Linked DNA regions of Homo sapiens: regions 1, 2, 3 and 5 are each linked to region 4. The links are contacts of gene promoters, found by promoter capture Hi-C in blood cells and fetal thymus (Javierre and others, 2016). All regions are on one chromosome and are shown on one strand. Each heading gives the region's core, a stretch centred on a gene start or on the middle of the fragment in contact. The rest is flanking DNA. Distances are from core to core; before and after follow the strand shown.

What was found. Contacts are between HindIII fragments. The CHiCAGO score rates a contact against its expected background, and 5 or more counts as called.
Region 1: a fragment that was not itself captured here is called in contact with the fragment with the promoter of EOMES in region 4 in 16 of 17 cell types (total CD4 T cells, naive CD8 T cells, total CD8 T cells and 13 more); the score reaches 35.3 in total CD4 T cells.
Region 2: a contact is called between a fragment that was not itself captured here and the fragment with the promoter of EOMES in region 4, in 1 of 17 cell types (neutrophils). The highest score is 5.4, in neutrophils.
Region 3: a fragment that was not itself captured here is called in contact with the fragment with the promoter of EOMES in region 4 in 5 of 17 cell types (total CD8 T cells, total CD4 T cells, non-activated CD4 T cells and 2 more); the score reaches 6.2 in total CD8 T cells.
Region 5: a contact is called between a fragment that was not itself captured here and the fragment with the promoter of EOMES in region 4, in 16 of 17 cell types (total CD4 T cells, naive CD8 T cells, non-activated CD4 T cells and 13 more). The highest score is 44.8, in total CD4 T cells.

Annotation. Positions count from the first base shown.
Region 1 is chr3:28,264,800-28,269,392 of GRCh38, forward strand. The region is part of intron 2 of CMC1 (C-X9-C motif containing 1); the gene reads left to right. Among named protein-coding and RNA genes, the nearest start is that of CMC1, 25 kb to the left of the region's middle. The HindIII fragment of the contact is 2,067 bases long and covers 803-2,869 here.
Region 2 is chr3:27,175,739-27,180,543 of GRCh38, forward strand. All of the region lies in intron 26 of NEK10 (NIMA related kinase 10), which reads right to left. Among named protein-coding and RNA genes, the nearest start is that of NEK10, 190 kb to the right of the region's middle. The HindIII fragment of the contact is 5,135 bases long and covers 363-4,805 here.
Region 3 is chr3:28,380,865-28,385,495 of GRCh38, forward strand. All of the region lies in intron 1 of ZCWPW2 (zinc finger CW-type and PWWP domain containing 2), which reads left to right. Among named protein-coding and RNA genes, the nearest start is that of AZI2, 34 kb to the left of the region's middle. The HindIII fragment of the contact is 1,769 bases long and covers 1,793-3,561 here.
Region 4 is chr3:27,719,243-27,724,146 of GRCh38, forward strand. It overlaps EOMES (eomesodermin), which reads right to left and starts at 3,081. Exons shown (of 6, transcript NM_001278182.2): 1 at 2,172-3,081; 2 at 929-1,083; 3 at 118-239. The coding sequence starts at 3,052. RefSeq lists a silencer at 2,507-2,716. The HindIII fragment of the contact is 2,734 bases long and covers 1,329-4,062 here.
Region 5 is chr3:28,303,292-28,308,096 of GRCh38, forward strand. All of the region lies in intron 2 of CMC1 (C-X9-C motif containing 1), which reads left to right. Among named protein-coding and RNA genes, the nearest start is that of ZCWPW2, 43 kb to the right of the region's middle. The HindIII fragment of the contact is 4,434 bases long and covers 542-4,805 here.

The DNA.
Region 1 (4,593 bases), core at 586-3,085, 540 kb after region 4:
ATCAGTCTAAAGTTACACATATAAGTTGTATGTGTGCTGTCATGTAGCATATTGTCTTTATACCTAGAATGAAAGAAAGCTAGCTAACTCAATTACAGATTTAATTTTTACTGACATAATTCCAAGGAAAATGCAGAATGATTGTATGACTTTGAGTTTTATTTTTGGTTTTTGAAATGAAAGCGTAGAGTATAACTTTAAAATATTTATTTGTGTTACAAAACTAGTGTTTTATAATGGTACAGAAAATAAAGTGTTTAATTTTCACTTCATCAAAAGTTAAGTTGTTTAGGATGTTGACGTAGTTAAGTTTTTGCTGTTTTAATATACTTACGGTTTCTGAAGACTGAAAGCATCTTAAAATCTGTGACTCATTTGGATTATTTAAATGTATTCATCTATATTAGAATGTAATAATATAATTTGAATATCTTATAGATAATTATGTATTGATTTTTTAGGCCATGTGATTCAAAACAATATTTTAGAATCTAAAATTGATAAGAGAATAAGAAGTCTTTAGTATTTTCTAACCATATAAATTAGGAAATCATATACATTAGAATTATTCAAGCAGCAGAAGAAAACTTCATTTAAACTCAACAGTTATACATAATTTAGAATCGGGACATTTCCATTGTAGTTTATTTACTGTTTATAGCTTTTGCTTTATTAAATAATTATAGGATTTTATATAAAAGCATTATATATGCCAATTGTATGGTTCTTAGATAAAAGATACAGGAATTTTAATAAGTGATCTGACTTTCTGCTAAATGCCTAAAACATGATTATGTAGGAAAGCTTTTCCGTTAGATTTTTTTTTTAATGTCATTTCAACCCAGCTGATCATAAGAATTGGGTCAGACTGCCAGCAACTTAGGTTTGTGAAGGGAATGGAACAGCTTTTCCATGGACAAAGAGAAATGAAATCACTTTCAATGAAAGAAAGATGCCTCATTATAGTCACCAACAGCAGTTATTGACAGCTACACTTCCTATTAACAAGGAGCATTTAACTAAGAGTTTGGCTGTTGGATCTTTGGACTTGATCTAATTTGCTAGCATTAATTAGTTTCTTTTGAGCACAGACACTTGGTGCTCACAGCTATAGATTTGCAGGGCTAATTAGGATAGAAAATTGAACAGAATTGGGTAAGGCATTAACCTTCAACCATTACCAGCTGGGACACTGATAAAGCCCACAGAGTCCAAATGTTACCTATTGATGTGAGGAGTACCCTAATGAATATCAATTTCAGCCAGGTTGCTATATTCTTACTAGTTCTGTCTTCATTTTAATTTTTTAACCAGCTTACATGATACCCTCTTTATCTATACACCATTGGTTTTTACTTAATGTACACTGAATTAGTCTGAGTTGCATATTTCACCTAATGTTTAAATACAGTTAAAATTTGTCTTAAGCAATAGATAACATTTAGAATGTTTCATCATTATATACCCTTATACTTCTAAAATTTAATTTTAATCTGGAATTACATGATTCTAATTCTACAGTGAATTTGTATAAGTTCCAGTAACTATGCCATTTCAGTATAATGAAAACTATAACGTAATACAAAAAAATTTTAGCTTTTGGGTGACAAATAGTGTTCATATTATTTAAATGGTGTCAACTCTTGAATCTTGGTCTTTATAAAATATATTTTTAATAATGTAAAATAAACACAAAAGTATATGGTTTTTTTTTTTCCTTTTTCTTTGAAATGGAGTCTCACTATGTTGTGCAGACTGGTCACCAACTCCTGGGCTCAAACAAGTCTCCCACCTTGGCCTCCCAAAGTGCTGGGATTGCAGGCGTGGACTACTGCGCTCAACCTATGTTTCTTTTTGAAGAGAAGAATAGTGCTTAGCACCTTTCCTTTTTGAACTTTGATTTGATTACAAAGGAGAATCCTGATCTTGCTATTGGGGAAACTTTGACAAGATTATAAACTCTGTTGATATCAAAAGAAAAATTAATTGATTTAAATATAAAATTTAATTTTATAGTATTCTTTCTTTGCTAGTGATATTGTTGGTGGTGAATAAAGCCGCTAAAATAAATGACTGAAGTATACTGGTAGATATTAACACAGTGAACACTGAGTACATTGGGAATGGAACTGAAGGAAAACCCTAGAATGGCCAAATCGCTTTCTTACTTCCTCCCACTTTCCTCACCTTCCAAAAGCCAAAACAGTAACCTCCCACCAACTGTAATGATGAAATCATTGCTTTTTCTTGGATCTAGGAGTTAGCACCTTGTGTCTTAGGGAGATGGTTTGACAAACTCTGGATTTCAACTTTTGTCTTTTTCTAGCTGTTTGACTTCACTAATTAAATGATTTATGTTTTCTGTTAGTAATATTTAAAAAATATTGTTTGCCGTATATAGGTAAAGTGTGCATACTAGTATTAATACATTTTTCTCCATAAGAGGAAGAGTCACTGAATTGTATAGTGTTTTGTAAAAATTCCTCATTATATTTCTTTGCTTTTTTTGAAGTGCATAGTTGACATTTGCTATAAAGTCTCTATATTGGATAATGACGTTTGCTTTAGAAATAATAACAGCCCTTTCTCTTTTTTCCTTTTGCTATCACAGGTAAAGACAGAAAAGTATTTTGTCATCAGGGATGGGCTGGAACTTTCTTTAACCTAGCTGTATTCTCTTACTGACTCCTTTCATCCCTTGGGCCCTCTTTTCCCTTATTTTAATGTTTCTTTTGTATTTATGTTGCAGTCTTTATGATCTGTTGTCCAATAAGTGGGATATAGCTCTGAAAGAATTACATAAAGTACAAGGAAGCATGGGTTATTTGTTTGTTTGAAACATCACAGAGCTGTAGGTAAATAACAAAGAAGCTTGATAAAATGCGCTCTTCTGTCAATCACACAGAACTGAAGTATGTTGTATTTTGTGAAATTCCAAAGATAAGTGAATGAACAAAAAACAATCAAGTCAAGAATGCTTAGAATGTTCTTTAGGAAGTTTACAGGCAGGTAATTATCAGAACAGCATTGAAATAGGTTGCAGGGCTGCAGACTATATACATGGTCAAAGTAATCACTCTTCTGTCCAACTGTGTTACTTGAAGCTGCCAAAAATCTGCCTTTTTATTTGTTGTTTGAGGTGTACCACTCTTATTACATGTATTTTTGTCATTAACCAGTGCACCAGTATTAACTAATGCTGAAGTGGATATGCAACACATCTTGAGACTGGTTTTGATATACTAAAAGGAAAATAATCACCGCATATGATGAATAGCTGTTATATATGAGTATATTATACAGTCTAAGAAATACAAGTAGATATAAGGCACAGTTTCTGCACTTTGGACTTACACTGAACTATCTCATGGGTTCCCAATCACCATTGGATTGGTTGATTCACTAGGAAGACTGACAGGACTCAGCATATAATCCTATTCATAGCTAAAGGTTATTACAGCAAAAAGATACAAAGCAAAATCAACAAAGGGAAAAGGCATATGGGAAAGTTCAGAAGAAACCGTGGCACAAGCTCCATGAGTCTTCTCCTGGTAGAGTCACTCAGGGTGTGCTTAATTTCTCCAGCACTGTATTGTGACAACACATGTGAAATGTTGTCTACCAGGGAGGCTCATTAGAGACTCAGTCCCCAGAATTTTTATTGAGAATTTGTTCTCAATAAAACATTTGGGAACCCTCTGCCTAACATGTACCAAAATTTCAGATTCCCAGAAGGAAAGCAGGTGTTCAGCATAAATCATATTGTTTGTACAAACAGTTTGGGCACAGTGAGCCACTCTTATCAATTACGAAATGGGGACACTCCCAAGATCCGAGTTCTCCGATGCCACCTAAGGGCCAATCTTGCAAGCAAGCCTTTTAAGGATAGCAGTGTCATGCCTGCTATGTTAACTCTTTTCTGCACATGGACATAATAAAAGTTACTTAGCAGTAACTATTTGTGTATGCCTATCATGCCTGGTGTTATGCCAATGGAATCATGAGTAATAGGCTTATATCAATCATAAATACAGCTGAATTATTTTAAAAATAACTGAACAAAGTATATAGCAGTCCTTCTTATTTGTGGTTTCACTTTCCATGGTTTCAATTACCTGTGGTCAACTGAGGTTCTAGTTTTATCATTTCATATCATCATCATAAGAAGGGTTAGTATAATAAGATATTTATAGTACAATAAGATATTTTGAGAGAGACCATATTCACTTAACTTTTATTGTTACAAACATTCTATTTTATTAGTTGTTGTTAATCTCATACTATGCCTAATTTATAAATCAAATTTTATCAGGGGTATGTATGTAGAGGAAATAAACATAGTATACATAGGATTTGGTAGTATCTGCAGTGTCAGGCATCCACTAGGGGGCTTAGAACGTATCCCCCATGCATAACAGGGGACTACTGTATAATGGTTATTACTTACTGATCCAGTGGTTCTCAATTGTATGTGTTAGCTCATATGCTCATTATCAGACTCAATAGCTTATTATGATTATCTTGTTTCTGAAAACAGGACAGTTTTGCAATAAAATTATATGTAGTTGGACATAAATACCCTTGAATAAAATG
Region 2 (4,805 bases), core at 1,680-4,179, 540 kb before region 4:
CTACAGATCAGGTAGACAAAAAGACAAAGAAAGGCTGTGATGGAGGAAAGGATAACAGGCAGAGAGTGTGAGAAGAAAGAAAAAGGTGCATTTATTGAAGGGGAAAGAATTCCCTCTATGAATTGTGTCCAAGATGATTTAGTCACAAATTACCTAGCACTTCTTGACTAAAAAGGCTCCAATGATGCTCATTTCAGAGACAGCCTTATTTATTTCAGATTTATGTGTTTTTTATTTTTTTCCTACAGTAAAATGACACAGCTCCAAGGCACAGGTTTCTAAAAACTCCATAATAATAGAATTTGCAGATGAAGAAAACCTAAGATCTTAGGGATAACTAGAATCAGAAATAAACCTCTAAAAGCTTTCATATATTTATGTTCTATAGGTAAGATGAAAAGATTTTTAAAATACAAAAAACATTTGTGCATTGCAAACTGTCTGATCAATTGCTGTTTATTTCTTTTCCCTGAGATTCTTTTCAGTGATTCTTCAAAGTTTCACCAAGCTCCTTGTTTTGTTGAAGTTAATTTGCAGGTGAAGAAGTATTTTAACTTTGATTTTCCATAATTAGTACATCCAATGTTCAAAGGCTGTTTTATGACTCTGAGTTGTTAATTTCTGCTTCTGAGGTCCACCCTGGTTGGCTAACTTACAACCTGAGACAGGAAATGCTTTGGCCGCTCTCTGGCAAAAGATATATGCTACTCAGAAATTTTTCCAATGCCTAAGGCTAGTATCGGGCTTCTAAGTCCAGCCTCAGCTCTGCCACACTCAACCCCTGATACCAAATCCAGGAGCTCTTTCTAAGGCTCAAAACTTTATTGCAAAACCAACTCAACTTCTTCCATGCCTACCTCTTTTCTTCGTCCCAAACCACAAAACCCTTCTTCCTCTAACTATCCTCAACTGAAGTCATTAGAAATTTACACAGAAGTAAAAACCCAATTCAAGGCCTTTTCCTTCTTATGACCTTTTTTATTCTAAGTAAATCATCTTCTACCCTATCCTGAAGACCACAGCTGGCATCTGCAACCTTTTCAGGACTTTACACCCAAGATGTGTCAACATTACCAAGGTTGAAAAAAGATGAAGGAGAATTTTTGAATTGAGAAAACTTTTTATTCTGTCGATGCAATTAAGATGCTGGAATTCAAATATCCCTAAAACTAGTAAAACTTTAACAAAGGCTTTGTGTCTCTTAAGAACAGGCATGGATAAAACATCAGAGGAAAACATTTTTCTTTGAACAAATGAAGAGTCAGGAGAAGCTGGAGTCCCCGCTGAAAAAGGCAATTCGAGACTTAAGGACGCTGGACTTGCAATCAAAACCCAAGAACCAATTGGGTCATAAATCAATAGTCACTTGTAACTGCCAAAATTTCATCCACGGGTAATTGACTGTTTGCATAAATTCTGATAAAGGGGAATTTACAATCTGAGAGAGATGCTTTTTCAGACTCTGTATGCATAAAAATATGATAATATAGATGGATAGTTTGGGTTTAAAATTTGTATTTCTAGGCCAGGCATGGTGGCTCACTCCTGCAATTCCAGCACTTTGGGAGGCTGAGGCAGGTGGATCACGAGGTCAGGAGATCAAGATCATCCTGGCTAACACAGTGAAACCCTGTCTCTACTAAAAAATACAAAAAAATTAGCCGGGCATGGTGGTGGGCGCCTGTAGTCCCAGCTACTCGGGAGGCTGAAGGAGGAGAATGGCATGATCCCAGGAGGCGGAGCTTGCAGTGAGCCGAGATTGTGCCACTGCACTCCAGCCTGGGTGACAGAGCAAGACTCTTGTCTCAAAAAAAAAAATATATATATATTTCTATAACAATCCCTTGCAGCAGTTTTTGCTTCAAAAAAAAATTGATATAATTTTTGACCTTGCCATAAACCATATGCCACACATTTTCCCTACTGTGATTTCTGGAGTTTTTCACTGTGAGTATTTGAGTATCCAACTCTTTATAAAATTGTTCCTTGAAGAACTGGGGGCACTTTAGTCCATTTTAAATCCTTTAGTGCTTTGCACAATGCCTTACACATAGCAAAGGCTCAATAAATAGTTGAGCCATTAAGTTGTCCTCAGAAGACACATCCAGCAAGTACATTAACCTATTAAAGGGATTTAGGCAAGAAAAAAGGCAAAGTTTTTGGAGACAGAATTTGGCTGCTATAATCTTTTTCACTTTCTAATTACTAAGATTTTTCAAGGAGTAGGAGAGGGAGTTAACTAGTTTTTTTGGCATCTGCATGCATCTATCCTAGGAATGGATAGACACATTCCGGATATCAATACGGCGGCAAGGAGAATACAACGCAAATCACACAATAAAATTATCACTGATATGGAAATCAGCACCATTATAGAAGATGCTTCCTGTCACCACGCTAGTATTGGCACAATTATGTTTAGCTCGGTTTTGCGCATTATAATGTAATATTTTTATGTGTGCAGCAGATCATAATACATTTTCAGTTGAATAGCAATTCTAACAGTAACAGACTGACATTACCCAAATTAACTGCTACAGTAGGAAAATTAAGGGCATCTATTTTATTAAAATCAGTGCAATTTTTAAAATTGCCAGAAAGTTTTAGGAGAGAAAGAAAATCAAGAAATAAATATAAAGCATAACAACAGCTATATCCTATAGATGCTTTACTTTAGAACTCTAAAAAATGCACTATTTCTTTGTGTTCTGAAATATTCATATTCTATTAGGTATATTTTTACCCAGTTTCTTCCATCTGTTTTGTTAATAAACTGTACCCTTAAATATCTCAATTTAGTGCTACCAGGTGCTAGAAATTCATCCAGCTGAGGTGATCTTTTATCAGTGGCACCGCATTCTATGCTTTTCATGGATGATTGCACAAAGAAAATTCAAACTAGGAGACAGGCCATTGACTGCATACTATTGTAAATAAACTTAGTCCCTACATTTTAAGGTATATTTTTAAAAATCAGCCAGTGTGGTCAGATGATTAAGGAACCTTGTGGACTAGACCATAGCTGAGTGAACTGCTCACTGTAGTGGTGAGATAGGAACCTTTTCTCCAGGCCTCCCTATGGAAGACTTGGCTTTGCCACATCAGAGAGGTGGGCTGATGGAATAAGCCTGGAGCCTGGTCCCACCCCCTACCCAGTGGTAGATGGAAATCTTTAATCTTTGATCCTGAAAGTTAGTTTTTGTTTGTTTTTTAGAAATAGGTTCTCACTATGTTGCCCAGGCTGTTCTTGAACCTCCGGGTTTAAGGGATCATCCTGCCTCGGTCTTCTGAGTAGCTGGAAATACAGAGGCACACCACTGTGTCCAGCTTTCCCAAAATGGTTTGGATGGTAACATCGTCTATTTTCATCAGGGAATCTTGAAGAATTTCCCTTCTCCCATTCTCTACATACAGTTAAGAGAGCAATAGTTAAATCTAAACCAGAAAAACTGGTGTTTTGGGGCCCTAAAAATAACTAATTTATATGGATTATATAATAAAGAAAATATTCTCTTTAGGTTGGATCTTATTTATTTTGAACTTATTAAATATTTACACAAAGCTAAAAATTTTACTGTCATGACATAGTTATTATCTCATTATTATACTATCTTAATTAGAACGTCTTAAAAGCACTATTACATATTAATGAGCTGTGATTAAATTAAATAAATTAGGGAATAAATTGGTCATTACAATTCAATCTAAAACTCCAGTATCAAATTTATTATGGTTAAAAATGTTTCACTGTTATCCCATAACTAACCTAGTACTGTATCAGAAATGAGTGGATTTTCTATCACTTTTAACTCAAATACAGGTTTTCTAGAAGGAATAATACTAACAAAGAGGAGAAGGAAAACAATGTCATAATCTGAAATTATCATTTGTTAAGAATACAGAAGATCTGGTCCATCACAACAATACTGACCACCATGTTTTTCCAAGACAGCAGACTAACATGCCAATAGAACTAAATGTATATACCAATATATTTAAAAGCATTTCAAATGAGGCCAGGATCAGGTAATTCTATTTAACATTTAAAAGAAACAATGGGGGCTGGGCGTGGTGGTTCACACCTGTAATCCTAGCACTTCAGGAGGCTGAGGCAGACAGATCACCTGAGGTCAGGAGTTTGAGACCAGTCTGGCCAACAAGGTGAAACCTGGTCTCTACTAAAAATACAAAAATTAGCCAGACATGGTGGCAGGCACCTGTAATCCCAGGTACTCGCAAGGCTGAAGCACGAGAATTGCTTAAACCTGGGAGGCGGAGGTTGCAGTGAGCTGAGATCATACTACTGCACTCCAGCCTGGGCAACAGAGCAAGACTCTGTCTCAAGAAAAAAAAGAAAAAAAGAAAGAAACAATGGGCCAGGCATGGTGGCTCATGCCTTTAATCCCAGCACTTTGGGAGGCCAAAAGTGGACCGATCATTTGAGGTCAGGAGTTTGAGACCAGCCTGGCCAAATAGTGAAACCCCATCTCTACTAAAAATATAAAAATTAGACAGGCATGGTGGTGCGTGCCTATAATCTCAGCTATTGAGGAGGCGAAGGCAGGAGAATCACTTGAACATGGGAGGTGGAGGTTGCAGTGAGCCAAGATCACACCACTGCACTCCATCCTGGGTGACAGAGTGAGACTGTATCTCAAAAAAGAAAGACAAGGGAAGGGAAGGGGAGGGGAGGGGAGGGGAAGGGAGGGGAAGGGAAGGGAAGGGAAGGAACAATGTACAGAGAACAATCAAGTGGGCAAGTTTTAAGAAATTTTTTGTTTCTCAAAAAAACAATGTCATTGAAA
Region 3 (4,631 bases), core at 1,427-3,926, 660 kb after region 4:
CTACCTAATAATGTGCTATGTTTAAAATATATATACTTTGTTGAACTTTACCAAATATATATATATTTGGTATATATATATATATATATATATATATATATATATATTTGGTATATATATATATATATATATTTGGTATATATATATATATATATATTTGGTATATATATATATATATATTTGGTGTATATATATATATATATATATATATATATACAGAAAAGTAAAACAATTATTAATTTAAGTCTTTACTGAATTCTCTTGAAAGGATGGCAGATGGGGAAGTACTTCATTTAATAGAAAATAAAATTCCTTACTCATTTGTCCTCCTCAAAGTTCCAAACTATGCAGGAATTGCTTGCCTCCCTAAAAACTTCACCAGTAGCCTATTGTTGACTGAAACCCTTAACAATAACATAAACAGTTAATTAACACATACTTTGTATGTTATATCTGTTGTATACTGTATTCTTACAATAAACCTAGAAAAAAGAAAATGTTACCAAGAAAATCATAAGAGAAAATATATTTACTATTTATTAAGTGGAACTGGATCATCATGAAGGTCTTCGTCCTTACTGTCTTTATGTTGAGTAGGCTGAGGGTTGGTTTTGCTGTTTCAGGGATGATGAAGGTGGAAGAAAGTCTGCATGTAAGTGGACCCATGCAGTTCAAACCTATGTTATTCAAGGGTCAACTGCGTATGTGAATGTTAGAACACCACCAGCCTGGGTGACACAGTGAGACTATGTCTTTACTAAAAATAAAATAAATTAGATGAGCATGGTGGCACACGGCTGTACTCCTAGCTAGTCAGGAGGCTGAGTGGGAGGATTGCATGAGTCCAGGAGTTCGAGGCTGCAGTGAGCTATGATCCCACCACTGCACCCAGGCCTGGGCAACAGAGAGAACCCTTATCTCAAAAACAAAATTTTGGAACAATAAAGTGGCTGTATTAATTTGCTAGGACTTCTGTAACAAAGTACAACAGATTGGCTGGCTTAAAGAACAGAAATTTGGCCAGGCGTGGTGGTTCACACCTCTAATCCCAGCAATAGGAGGCCAAGGTGGGCGGATCACCTGAGGTCAGGAGTTCGAGACCATCCAGACCAACATGGAGAAGCCCCATCTCTACTAAAAATACAAAATTAGCTGGGTGTGTTGGTGCATGCCTGTAATCCCATCTACTCGGGAGGCTGAGGCGGGAGAATCGCTTGAACCTGGGAGGTGGAGGTTGCAGTGAGCTGAGATTGCACTAGTGCATTCCAGCCTGGGCAAGAAGAGTCAAACTGCATCTCAAAAAAAAAAAAAAAAAAAGAGAAATTTATTTTCTCACAATTCTGGAAGCTAGAAGCCTGAGATCAAGTCTGAGATCAACCCTGTTGACAGGATGGGTCCCTTCTGAGAGCTATGAGGGAAGGATCTGTTTCAGACCTCTCTTTTTGGCTTGTAGATGGCCATCTTCTCCCTGTCCTCACATAGTCTTTCCTCTGTATGTGTCTGTGTCCAAATTTCCTCTTCTTCCAAGGACACTAGACATATTGGATTAAGGCTCACCCTAATTACCTCATTAAATTTAATTACCTCTTTAAAGACCCTAACTCCAAGTAGAGTAATATTCTGAGTTACTGGAGATTAGAACTTTAACATGTGAATTTTTTTGGAGAGGAGGGCAAACAATTCAGCTGATAATAGTGGTTTTCTTGCTTTTGTTTTGAATACTTACTATTGTGCCAAAGACAATTTATAGAATCCTTTTATTGGTTATTTTCTCCATTTTCACAAACTCTAAAGCTTAATCTAGTTTAATAAAAGAGAAAAAAGGTACATATAATATTTAAGATACTGAGTCTTTGATAGGAAAGCTGGATCCTTCTGTAAAGTGCCCTTAAGTCTTTCAAAATCCTGTCCTAATGAGTAAAATTAAGGAAATTTCAGGGTACATAGATATTATATTAATTGTATGGTAAAACAAATGTTAGTTTCAGTCTTTCCACATTAAGAAGTAATAGTTGAAGCATTTTCAACGATGACGGGCTATACTTGTTTTGCCTCATAATAATAAATTTATAATAATGAAATCACATGGAATTGACACTAGCAGTATTTGTTAACAATTCTGAATTAAGGTTTTGCCAAGGTTTTGATCACTCAACCCTGTACTATTGAAATATTAATCAGGGCAGACTTAGCTTTCTAGTGCAAATACCTTGAAGGAGAGGGTAATTCCTAAATATACAGAGGTAACTTGACTGTCTATGTTGCATCCTGTGTCATCTCCCCAATATTAATACTCAATAAGGTGTTTAATTTATATAAGACATCTAAAGCAGAACCACAGTTCCTTTTGGGAAAATGGCAAATGTTTAGGATGAAAGAACCTATGCAAATAGTACCAAAGCATTACCACATAGTAGCTAATACACTCTATTAAATGTTACATATTGGAAAAATAAAACATGCAAGTCTTAAATATGACACAAAGCAAAGGTTAATGCTTCTTGGATTACATTTCTTGTTATCCGTGGGCTTATCATGGATATAAATAGTTAACTATTTTATTTGTATTATGTGACTGACAATGTCACTGAAAACCTGCACAATGCAGTTTTAGCTATGGATTCAATTAGCCTTTATGAAGGTTTTACCTGTGTAAAATGGGCATTTGGTGTGTTTAACCTATTAGGGTATATTTTTTTTTCTACTTTATAAGTAAAAAAAAAAATCTAGAAGATAAGAGGTGTGTGTTAAAGCTGAGTGGGCTGGATTTTGGGTGGCCTTTTTAAGTCAAGACATTCTAAATATTGGGATGTTAGGTGATTAATGAATTCTGAACGTGGACCTCTTCAATTCTAAAATTTTCATTAAAAGCCTCCCTCACATGAACCTAAACCAAAGTACTCTTTTTGCCACTTTTCTGAAAGTTCAGGGGAAAAAAGTCAGTTCACACTTTTTATAATGAATGAAGAACATTTGCCTATTTTATAAAAATGTGACTCAATGCTTACTTTTAAAACTGGATTTTTAAAAAATTGGATGGTATGGGTACCCTGTAATTTTATAATTATTCATCTAAACTTAAAATTTAATATTTCTTCCTTTTAGAAAAAATCAATATGCTCCATACCACCATATACACAGACCATGTAGTGAATTTCCTGGGCTCTCCCACAGCTTTAGAGGTATATTACTAGAGCCCTAGCCATTATCATTTTCCTCCATATTTTAAATTTGGGTAATACATTTCTGCTGGTATTAATAGTAGAATATACTATAATGTGGATTATCTCTACTTCTGTGTTTATTTATTTGTTACTAGACCCAACCACAGTCTTCTTTCCTTGCTTTCATCTTTCTCTACCCATGGAATATGTTATATGTATTTATACACTTTGTATTAATATGTTAGAAATCACAAATCTGTTTTGTACTTTTTATGTTATTAAATACTGCTTGTCAAACTTTTGCTTTTATACTAAATAAAATTAGTCTTACTAGAAAATTTTTTAAAAATATTCTAAAAACAAGAAAAGCAACCTTACGGCTTCCCTGCTTTCCTGAAGCTTTTCTACTGAGTACATTCACTTCAGACTATGTATTCTGGGTATTAATTCATGTGTCTGTATACTGAAAATATTTCATTCTGGTTACTTGCCTTTCAATTTACTTTATGGTTTTAATTTTTCAGTGTACCTTTAGTTACACAGAAGATTTAATCTTGACACATTCAAGTTGACCAATCTTTCTTTCTTTTTTTTTTTTTTTTGAGACGGTGTCTCACTCTGTCACCCAGGCTGGAGTGCAGTGGGACCATGTTGGCTCACTGCAACCTCCATCTCCTGGGTTCAAGCAATTCTTCCGCCTCAGCCTCCTGAGTAAGCTGGGATTACAGGCACCCATTTCCACGGCCGGCTAATTTTTTTATATTTTTAGTAGAGACGGGGTTTTACCATGTTGGCCAGGCTGGTCTCGAACTCCTGACCTCAAGTGATCCACCCGCCTTGGCCTCCCAAAGTGTTGGGATTACAGGCGTGAGCCACCGTGCCCGGCCAGCCAATCTTTCTTTTATGACTTTTGTGTTTTACATACATTTCTACTTCAATATTATACATATTTTATACTGTTTTGTCAGTCTAGAATTTATGTTTATAAGTGGTGCTAGGTTAAGATTAAACTTTATTTTTTATTGTAAGAATCACAAATAGATGTTGAATTTCTCATGCTTTTGGGGGACATATTAAGATGATCATATGGTTTTCCTTCTTTAATCCATAATGTGGCATGTCGTGAAAACAAGACAAGTAGTCAAGACCTGCACATATCAGACCTGTTGAAACAGTATTTAATTTACTGGAGAAAGCTCAAAGGGACAGGGGTCAATAGCTCAAAGTGTGAGTCTCTGTGACACCATCCCACTCTGAAGCAGACAGTGCATAGCAATTTTTAAAGGCCATATGAGAAGTTCCATTAGAGGGATCTTGACTGTTGGCCTGTATAGCTTTTAATTAATAATTAGAGAAATACCACCTCATCCCCTGGCATGATCAGGTGCCAGAATACAGTATGATGTGGAAGAACTTTTATTCCAGCACTATTCTGAAAGCATGGATATTCAAGGTTGACGAGATGTC
Region 4 (4,904 bases), core at 1,831-4,330:
AGCAAACAGGTCACAAATGCAAATATTATAAATACAGTGAAAAGAGTAGGGACTCTTATTAGAAAAAAGCCTTATAGTCAAAGCCAGAAGATATCCCCTCCTGCTCTGTCACTCTACCTGGGTGTTGTTGTTATTTGCGCCTTTGTTATTGGTGAGTTTTAATTTCCCGAATGAAATCTCCTGTCTCATCCAGTGGGAACCAGTATTAGGAGACTCTGGGTGAACATACATTTTGTTGCCTAAGAGAAAATGAAACAAAACACAAAACCCAAGCATATAGGGCTGTTTACAAATGGAGAAAGCGGAGGGATGTCTCTTAGCTATGAGCAAGATATAAGAGCTAGACTTACAGTTGGTCTCCCAGTAAAAGTTGCTTAAAGAGGCCAGTGGAGACCAGCAGGACTACATCCATATCCCTCCCAGGCCCCTGTGCTTCCAACCTTCCTTGCACTAGGGACTCCCCTGAATGGCATTTCAGAATTTAGAAACGGAGCTAACAAGAGATGACTCTTGAAGGTCAATTTGGGGCCTTCTAAAGCTGTAAGGGCAACATCCGATGGAAGACAGTTGGATATTTATGGGTGAACTAAACTTTGGCTGGGCTTTCTCAAGTGAACATTAGAATCCCAGGAGCCCTTCCCACCTGGAGAGCTTATGACTACTGATTTGTTAAACGTAGGGATTGGGGGGTGGGGTGATGTCTTAGTTAAAGGTTCTAAATATCTACATATTGGCAGACAAGAAATCTGACTTAGCAAACTCTCCTCTCCGTCAAACAAGCAACTCAAAGACACTCATACTAACACCTCTAGGCCTCAGAATGGAAGGGGAAAAAAAAAGTGCTACATTTAAATGTGAGTTGTGTGAGTCGAGGGTTACGATTTCTTCCCGCCCGTTCCTCCCCGGCCCGAGCCTCTTCTCTGCTCACCCTGCATGTTATTGTCGGCTTTGCCACAGGTCACCCATTTGCCCCCCTGGAAGCGCCAGTGGTTGGGGTCCGCCAGCACCACCTCTACGAACACATTGTAGTGGGCAGTGGGATTGAGTCCGTTTATGTTGAAGCTCAAGAAAGGAAACATGCGCCTGTGCAAGGGAATAGAATCAGAAAAATCGATTTTAATTGGGATGTCCTAGAACAGGCCCAGGCCCCAGCGGGTTCCCCAGACACCTGGGATAGGGTCGGAACACATTTAAAAGTTTGCAGTGAACAGAATGCTGGTAGATCAAGTGGTCTGAAACTATGTAAAATATTTTTGAGTTGGCAACTCTTGGAACCTTTCCGTCTTTTCAAAAAAAAAAAAAAAAAAAAAAAAAAAAAAAAAAAAAAAAGCTTGCCCCAACATCGGTATATTCCAAATTCGCGCGTGCTTCCGAAGGCTCATATTCTCGGCCCTTTCAGACGCTCTTAAAATTTTTCTCCTAGAATGTTAAAAACTACTAATTTTTAAATGCACCATTTTGAAAAGTACCAGAGAACAATATTAGGTTATTCTTGTTAAAAATATATATTAAAACTTTAGGCTAAAAGTCCCCTTTGAGTGCCCCTCTCTCAGCACCCACCCCTCCCTTTCCCCAGAAGTAGCCAGTGTTAGCAGTTGGATGTATATCAGAACTTTCTCGCGCACCGAACCCGAGCCAGGTCTGGCTCCAGGGCAGATCTAACCACCTACTCCGACCGAGCTTCCGAGGCCGGCGCTCTAGCCTTCATGCCCACCTCCCGGAGACGCCCCGTGGAGACCCTGGCGCCTAAAACTGCGGGAGCCCATCTACTGCGCTCAGGTGGCCAGCTCTTGAGCCTTCCCTATCCGTGGCTCCTTGCCGGCATGCAGGCATGCACAAGCATACCGCCGAGCAGGAGGATCTAACGAATCCAGCTTGTGGACATGCCCTAATTTCCATTTCCGCCTCCTCCAGGTCTGTTCAGGTGAGGATGATGGGAGGGAAAAGCGGTGTACAGCCGTAACATTGGCACCCTGCAAGAGCCGCCGGGGCACTGACACAGAGGGACACCGCATTGGAGATGCGGTGTCTACGGAGATTTATTGCGCGCGGTGAAACACTCTAAGCACCGCGCGGAACAACTGGGTTCAGCTCCCTCATCCCGGACCTTCCCCAGGACCACACGTCACCCTTTATCCCCGAACCCAGGGGCCCCTCCACGCTGCGCTCACCTGCCCTGTTTCGTAATGATCATCTCAGTTTGGTGGCGGTGGAATTTGAGCCACAGAGGCCGGTTGCACAGGTAGACGTGGGCACGGAAGCCAGAACCTGGAACCCCCAGGCCCCCCAGTCCTCCGCAAGATCCCGCCGCTGCGGCTCCAGGGTACGGCCCGTAGAGCGGAGCCCCCTGGCTGTACTGATAGGTGCCCGGGCCGCCGCCCCCGCCGCTGCTACCGCCCGCGCCACTGCCCGCACCGGCTCCTGGGCCGAACTGCGCCCTCCCGGGTGGGCACACAGCCGCGGGGAAGCCGCCGGGGGGCAGCATGGAGCCGTAGGGGTAGCGCGCCCCGTTAGGAGCCGGGTACACAGGTCCGTGGGGCGCCCCAGCCGCCGCCTGGTACGGGAAGAGTGAGCAGGGCGCAGCCAGCTCCGACCCCTGAGGACCGGGGGACTGGAGGTAGTACCGCTCGGAGCTCAGGCTGTCCATGGAGTAGCGCGCAGTGGCCGCAGCCGCGGCGGCGGCGGCGGCGGCGGCTGCAGCGGCGGAGGGCAGCTCCTCCTCCCCGCAGGGGGAGCCCTTGCGGCCGTCCGGGGGCCCCGGCTTGGCCACTGCCGCAGCGCTGGCAAATGCGTCCCCGGCGTCGGTGTCACTAAGCATGGCCGCGGGGGCCCCTGCGCTGGCGGCTGCGGGCTCCCCGCTCACCGCCTCGCAGGAGAGACTGCCGGAAAACTTCTTGGACGCTTTGTCTAAGTCCAACTTCTGAGGAGAGGGGGCCGCGCTGGGGAGGTGGCCAGCGCTCCCGCCGCTGCCGCCTCGCGCACTCTCCAGCGGGTAGAAGTGCGCGCCAGGCAGGTTCACTGAGCTCACCAAGAGCTGCTCCCCTAACTGCATGCTTTGCAAAGCGCAGACGGCAGCTGGCTGCTTCCTCTCCTCCGGTGGCCTTATTATAAAGGCAGGATGGGGGAGCCAGCGCCCTCTTCCGAGGGGAAGGTAACTTCCCCTTCCTCCCGCGCCGGGGCTACCCACCTGCCGACTCGCGGGCCGCTACTGCGCGTACTGGCGCGCCCTGAATCCAGCGTCCTTTCCGGAAGGAAAGCGCCGTGAGTTGGAAAGCAGGAGGTGGAAACTAACCCAGAAGCCCTCTCCTTTTCCTTCCTCGTACCTCTTGCTCCTCAGGACCCCCACCCTCCTCCCAGGCTCACACGCTGGAAGAAGGTGACTTAGATCTTTGTCCCCATCCACCCACTAGCCCGCGCCTTTCTGCCCTTTTTCAATTGCCAAAGCATCGGTCAAGTTGACCACTTGGAAACTTATGGGCTGTCACTAGCTGCTTTATATATTTGCGGCCAGGGAGGGGCTTCCCGGCCTCACAGCCCGGAGACCCTCCTATTGGCTGGTGGAGGTGACACTAATTCAATTAGGCATTTACTAATTGGATCAAGTCGCCTGTGACTTTCTTTTCCTTTTTTTTTTTTTTTTTTTTTTTTTTTTTTTGAGACTGCGTCCCGCTGTGATAATCAATCCTGGTGTCTGTAATTTCGCCGGAATTTAGGGGGACAAAGTTTGGGGTCTCCATAGCGGTGTCCACCCTTGGCGCATTAGTCATCTCAGCCCTCCGCTGGAGGAATGAGATGGCTGGAGCAGATTTTAGAGGCCAGAGAGAGAAAGACTCTTCAAGCTGATAGCTTGCAGGGAAGCGCCCGTCCCGGAGGCTGGGGAAACTGGGGCAAGTTGGAGACAGGCCCAAGGAAGTCTCTTTCCTCGTCGGAAGCTGTAACTTCAAAGCACACCTTCCTCTTGTCGAAGGCAAACTCCCTGGCCTTCAACGCACAGAACCACTTTTTGTTTGTTCCCATCCTTTTACCCAGTGGGAAAGGTTTGTAGAGAGGAAACTCGCGCTAAGCTTTTGGGATTCCGGGGACGGCCAGAGCACATTGCCATCCTGGAGGACCTAAGCTCTCAGCTTCTAAATCAGAAGCTTGGACAGGGTACTGGGGACAGGACAAGAGTGAAACTAAGCGAGCTAACACCAACTTCATACTCACGCCAACACAACTGCTTTCGGGGAGACAGTCACTTTTATTCCCCACAATTTAAAATCCTTTCTGCTCAGTTTTCCTGATCCCGGATTCCGTCCCTTCACCACCATCTTCAGTTAGGCCTGACACCAAGAAACAAAGCTTCCCTAACAGCCCCACAGTTAGGATTCCCTGCGCCTCTGCTCTGCGGCAAATACAGAAGGTAGAATAATTAGTGAAATAATCAGTTTGATATTGAATTAAACTCCAGCTGCTTGTTTCTTCGCTGCGTTTCCTCAGATAGATTCAAGAGCGGGGCCGTCATATTTTATCGTTTCATTATTACGGAAGCGGGGGGCACGTTTCGTTGCGGATAAGGAGAAGCCTGAATATTCGCTGTTAATAAGCAATTACAGACGCCGCCAGTAATCGCTCCGGGAGCGCATTTTCCGGCTGAGATGTCGGGACTCTGCTTCCCCAACCGAACGCGATCACACGGGAAACTCTTCGCCCACAACAGATGAGATGGCCAAAGGATTGCTGAGTGCGCACACGCAAGTGTAGAACAGTGCGAAGCTTTCCAACCCAGTTTTCCAACCACAGCAGCACCAACATCGGCATGTCTGGGGTCTCCGAGAACGAGGTCCTTAATGCACTTAGACTCTCCAGGGCATTTATCACGGTTTTTTTTTTCTTTTTTGATGTGTGTGTTCGCGCGCTCGCGC
Region 5 (4,805 bases), core at 1,509-4,008, 580 kb after region 4:
AAGGCCACCTGAAATAAGACAGTTTCTATTCAACATTATTAATGTATTCTTGAATTTTGGTTTTCCATCATGTATGTTCCTAGTGTTTTAACTGCTTCTTGTAAGAATCACATTTTAATCTCAAACTTATATTCTAATCAACTGAGATAATGAATCTCAGTATCCTCCTGAAACTTTTTAATTTTGCTATGAAACCCCGAAGTTTTGTTACTGTTTTTTTGAATTTTGTTTATGAATAAATGCTGAGTACAGCCTTTACTAAACTGAAGAGATAGTCATGATAAAGTACAATGTTGGAAATTTTGATCTTTGTCAAAGAAGTTAGATAACAGTAATGGCAGAGATTATTTAGCAACATATTTTAAAATATTAGAGTGAGTTAAATCAACTAAAAGCTGGTAGAAAATGAGAATTATTAACACTCCTTCAATTAATTCACTTATTCAGCTATTTGTTCGATAAATATATATGAATATTTACAGTTATTCATTTATATACAAATGCACAAATATTTATTGAACAAATATAAGCTAAGCAAGTAAGCTTTGCTGAATGATTATTTTTTACCTTAGTCTTTATTTTCTTAAATATTTTATTTTGATTAGGTATTTTAATAGGCTTAAAAAGGATCAGTGGATAAGAAAATATGTTCCAAGGAAAGATATGGAAGATAACTAAGCCTAGAATGATCATAAGTTATAAATCATAAAACAGTAGCCAAATCATCATCAGCCACCTGTTTGCATCTCACCTGAAGTATAAGGAACTAAAAATGTCTTTAGCTATGTTGTCCAACATGGTCACCATTAGACATACATGGCTATTTTAATTAAAATGAAAAATTTAGTTATGCAGTCGCATTAGCCACATTCAGCTTGGGCAACATAGTGAGACCCTGTCTCTTAAAAAAATACATCTTATTTAACCTAATATATCAAAAATAATATCTTTTTAACATGCAGCCAATATAAAAATTTTTAATGAGATATTTTATATTCCTTTTGTCACTGGATTTTTTTTTTCATTTTCTGCCTATGTTAGGTAGAATAATAGTCCCCAAAGATGTCTCAGTCATAATCCCTGAAACCTGTGAATATGGATATAAGGAACTAACTGTCCTAGAGAATTGAAAATAAAAGCTATGTTTAATGCATCACACATAAGAAGTAAGGATTTTTATCTGTTCTAATCCCCTCACTGGAATTATGTGAATCTAAGGTATTTCTGGACAGTATCGCTTAAAATTTTAACATAAAAACTGTTGGGTGATTTTCACTCATCTTAGTAGACGTCTCAACAGCATTTGACAATAATGATTATTCCTTCCTTGACCCAAACTTTCCCAGAAAAGATAGTCATCTGATGGATACATTTTGTTAGTTTTTATATTTTAAAGTTGTATTCAAATAATTTATAGAAGAATGAAGACAATGACTTTAGAAAGTATAATAAGAATTTAAACATAGCAAGCCCCAATTTTTATTCCCTATTTTACTTGTTCTGAAAGTTTTATAACTTGGAATGGTTTATGTCCTTTGATTGCCACTAACTGCTTATCATGAACCTGGAACATAATCTATTTTAAAGATTCTGACTCCATATAGCTCTAATAGGTTCTAGTTTACCATTAATCTTTAAAATGTATTTTCTTTTTACTTTAGATTTGAGGGGTACATGTGCAGGTTTGTTACATGAGTATATTGTATAATGCAGTGGTTTGGGCGTCTATTGAACCGTCACCCAAACAGTGATCATAGTAACCAATAGGTAGTTTTTCAGCCGTTGTCCTTCCTCCTTCCCTCCCATTTTGGACTCCCCAGTATCTATAATTTATATCTTTTTGTCCCTGCATACCCATTGTTTAGCTCCTACTTGTAAGTGACAACATGCGGTATTTGTCTATTTCTCTGTTAATCCACTTAGGATAATGGCCTCCAGCTAAATCTATGTTGCTGCAAAGGATGTGTTTTCGTTTTTATGGCTGTGTAGTATTCTATGATATATATGTACCACATTTTCTTTCTCCATTCCACTGTTGATGGACACTTAGGTTGATTCCATAACTTTGCTGTTGTGAGTAGTGCCGCAATAAACATACAAGGGCAAGTGTCTTTTTGGTAGAATTATTTCTTTTCCTTTGGGCAGCTATCCAGTAGTGGGATTATCCAGTTCTGTTTTTAGTTCTTTTAGAAATCTCCAAACTGCTTTCCACAGGGATTGAACTAATTTACATTCTGTTTATAAGCATTCCCTTTCTCCACATCCTCAACAACATCTCTTAGTCCTTTGTTGGATGCATAGTTTGCAAGTATTTTCTCCTTTTCTCTAGGTTGTCTGTTTACCCTGTTGATGGTTTCTTTTGCAGGGCAGAAGCTCTTTAGTTTAATTAGGTCCCAATTGTCAATCTTCTTTTTGTTTCATTTGCTTTTGAGATCTTAGTCATAAATTTTTTGCCTAGGCCAGTGTCCAGAAGAGTTTTTCATAGGAATTTTTTTTTTTTTTTTTTTTTTTTTTTTTTTAGTTTGAGGTCTTACGTTTAAGTCTTTCAGCGATCTTGAGTTAATTTTTGTATATGGTGAGAGGTAGAGATGGAGTTTCATTCTTTTGCACATGGCTAGCCAGTTTCCCCAGCACCATTTATTGAATAAAGTATCCTCTCCCCAGTGTTTATTTTTATTTACTTTGTTGAAAATCAGTTGGTTGTAGGTATGCAGCTTTATTTCCAGGTTCTCTGTTCTGTTCCATTGTTCTGTGTGCCTATTTTTGTACTGGTCCCATGCTATTTTGGTTATGATAGCCTTGTAGTATATTTTAAAGTTGGGTAATGTGATGCTTCCAGCTTTGTTCTTTTTGTTTAGGATTACTTTGGCTATTTGGGCTCTTTTTTGGTTGCATATAAATTTTAGGATAGTTTTTTCCAATTCTGTGAAAAATGACATTGGTAATTTGATAGGAATAGCATTGAATCTATAGATTGCTTTGTGCATTATGGGCATTTTAATGACATTGACACTTTCAATCCATGAGCATGGGTTGTTTTTTCATTTGTTTCATCTGTGATTTCTTTCAGCAGTATTTTGGAGTTCTCGTAGAGCTCTTTCACCTCCTTGGCCAGATGTCTACCTAGGTATTTGTGTGTGTGTGTGGCTATTGTAAATGGGATTGAGTTATTAATGTGGTTCTCAGCTTGAACGTTACTGGTGTATAGAAATGATGATTTTTGCATGTTGATTTTGTGTCCTGAAACTTTACTGATGTCATTTATCAATGCAGTAGTCTTTTAGAGGAATCTTTAGCATTTTCTAAATATATAATAATTGTTGGTGAACTACTTACATCTTTAAAATGAAGAATTTTTTTTTTTTTTTTTGAGACAGAGTCTTGCTCTTGTCACCCAGGCTGGAGTGCAGTGGCATGATCTCAGCTCACTGCAACCTCAGCCTCCTGGGTTCAAGCAATTCTCCTGCCTCAGCCTCCTGAGTAGCTGGAATTACAGGCACCTGTCACCACACATGGCTAATTTTTGTACTTTTAGTAGAGACAGGGTTTTGTCATGTGTTGGCCAGGCTGGTCTCCAATCCTGACCTCAGGTGATCCGCCCACCTCGGCCTCCCAGAGTGCTGGGATTACAGGTGTGAGCCACCATGCCCAGCCAAAATGAAATATTTTTAAAAACACCAATGACTCATAATTTTGTTGAAGTTAAGATGGCCATCTTTTTGGCTCCATAGTTTTAAAACATTTTCACTTTTAGATTTACAAATACTATTTCCTTTTAATCACCTTTTAAATATATCTGTCTTTAGCATTTGGATCAAGTACATTTCAACACACAGATATCATAAAAGATGAAAGAGTACTGCGTTGCCCTGTTTTTAGCACAATGGGATACAAGTTTTTGTTACATTATACTTCATGAAAAATCACTCCTGTTAAATGTCTAATGGGATGAGAATACTATATTTCCTTTTTGTCCTTAAAAATGTATTATTCAGGCCAAGTCAAGAGAATTGTTTGAGGCTAGGAGTTCAAGACCAGCCTGTGCAATATAGCAAGACCTTGTCTCTAGGAAAAATAAATAAAAAAAATTAGCTAGGTGTGGTGCTGCACACCTGTAGTCCTAGCTACTCGGGAGGCTGAGGTGGGAGGATCACTTGAGCCCAGAGTTCAAGGCTACAGAGAGCTATGATCTAACCAGCGCCCAGCCTGGGTGACAAGAAAAAAAGTATTATTCACGCATCAGTTCCTGATTTTGAGAAAATTCATCTGGGATACTGTCACCTGAAGACTTATAGTCAATATGATTATGTGCTTATATGATCAATTTCATCATCTTCGTTAAAGTCTAGAGTGCTGCTCTTGGTTTCTTTGCATTCTTCTAATTCATCTAATAATTGCAAAACATCTTTTAGCCAGTTTTTCCCCCCACTGTGGTAGTATATTAGTTTTCTATTGCTATTGTAACAAATTATACAAACTTAGTAGCTTTATTAAGACAATACAAATTCATTGTATCATAGTTCCGTAGTTCTCAAGTGTGACAGGTCTCACTGGGCTAAAATCAAGGTGTTAGCAGAGCTGTGTTTGTTTCTGGAGCCTCTAGGGGAAAGTCTGTTTCCTTGCCTTTTTCAGCAAAGATGCAAGTATTCTCTTTTTTCCATCTTTAAAGCCAGCAAGATAGAATCTCTCTGACTCTGCTTCCATCATCTCATCTCTTTTCTCCTGTTCTCTTCCGCATCTGTCTTTCACTTTTAAAGACCCTTGTGATTACTTTGGGCCTTCCCAGATAACCTCCCTATTTTCAA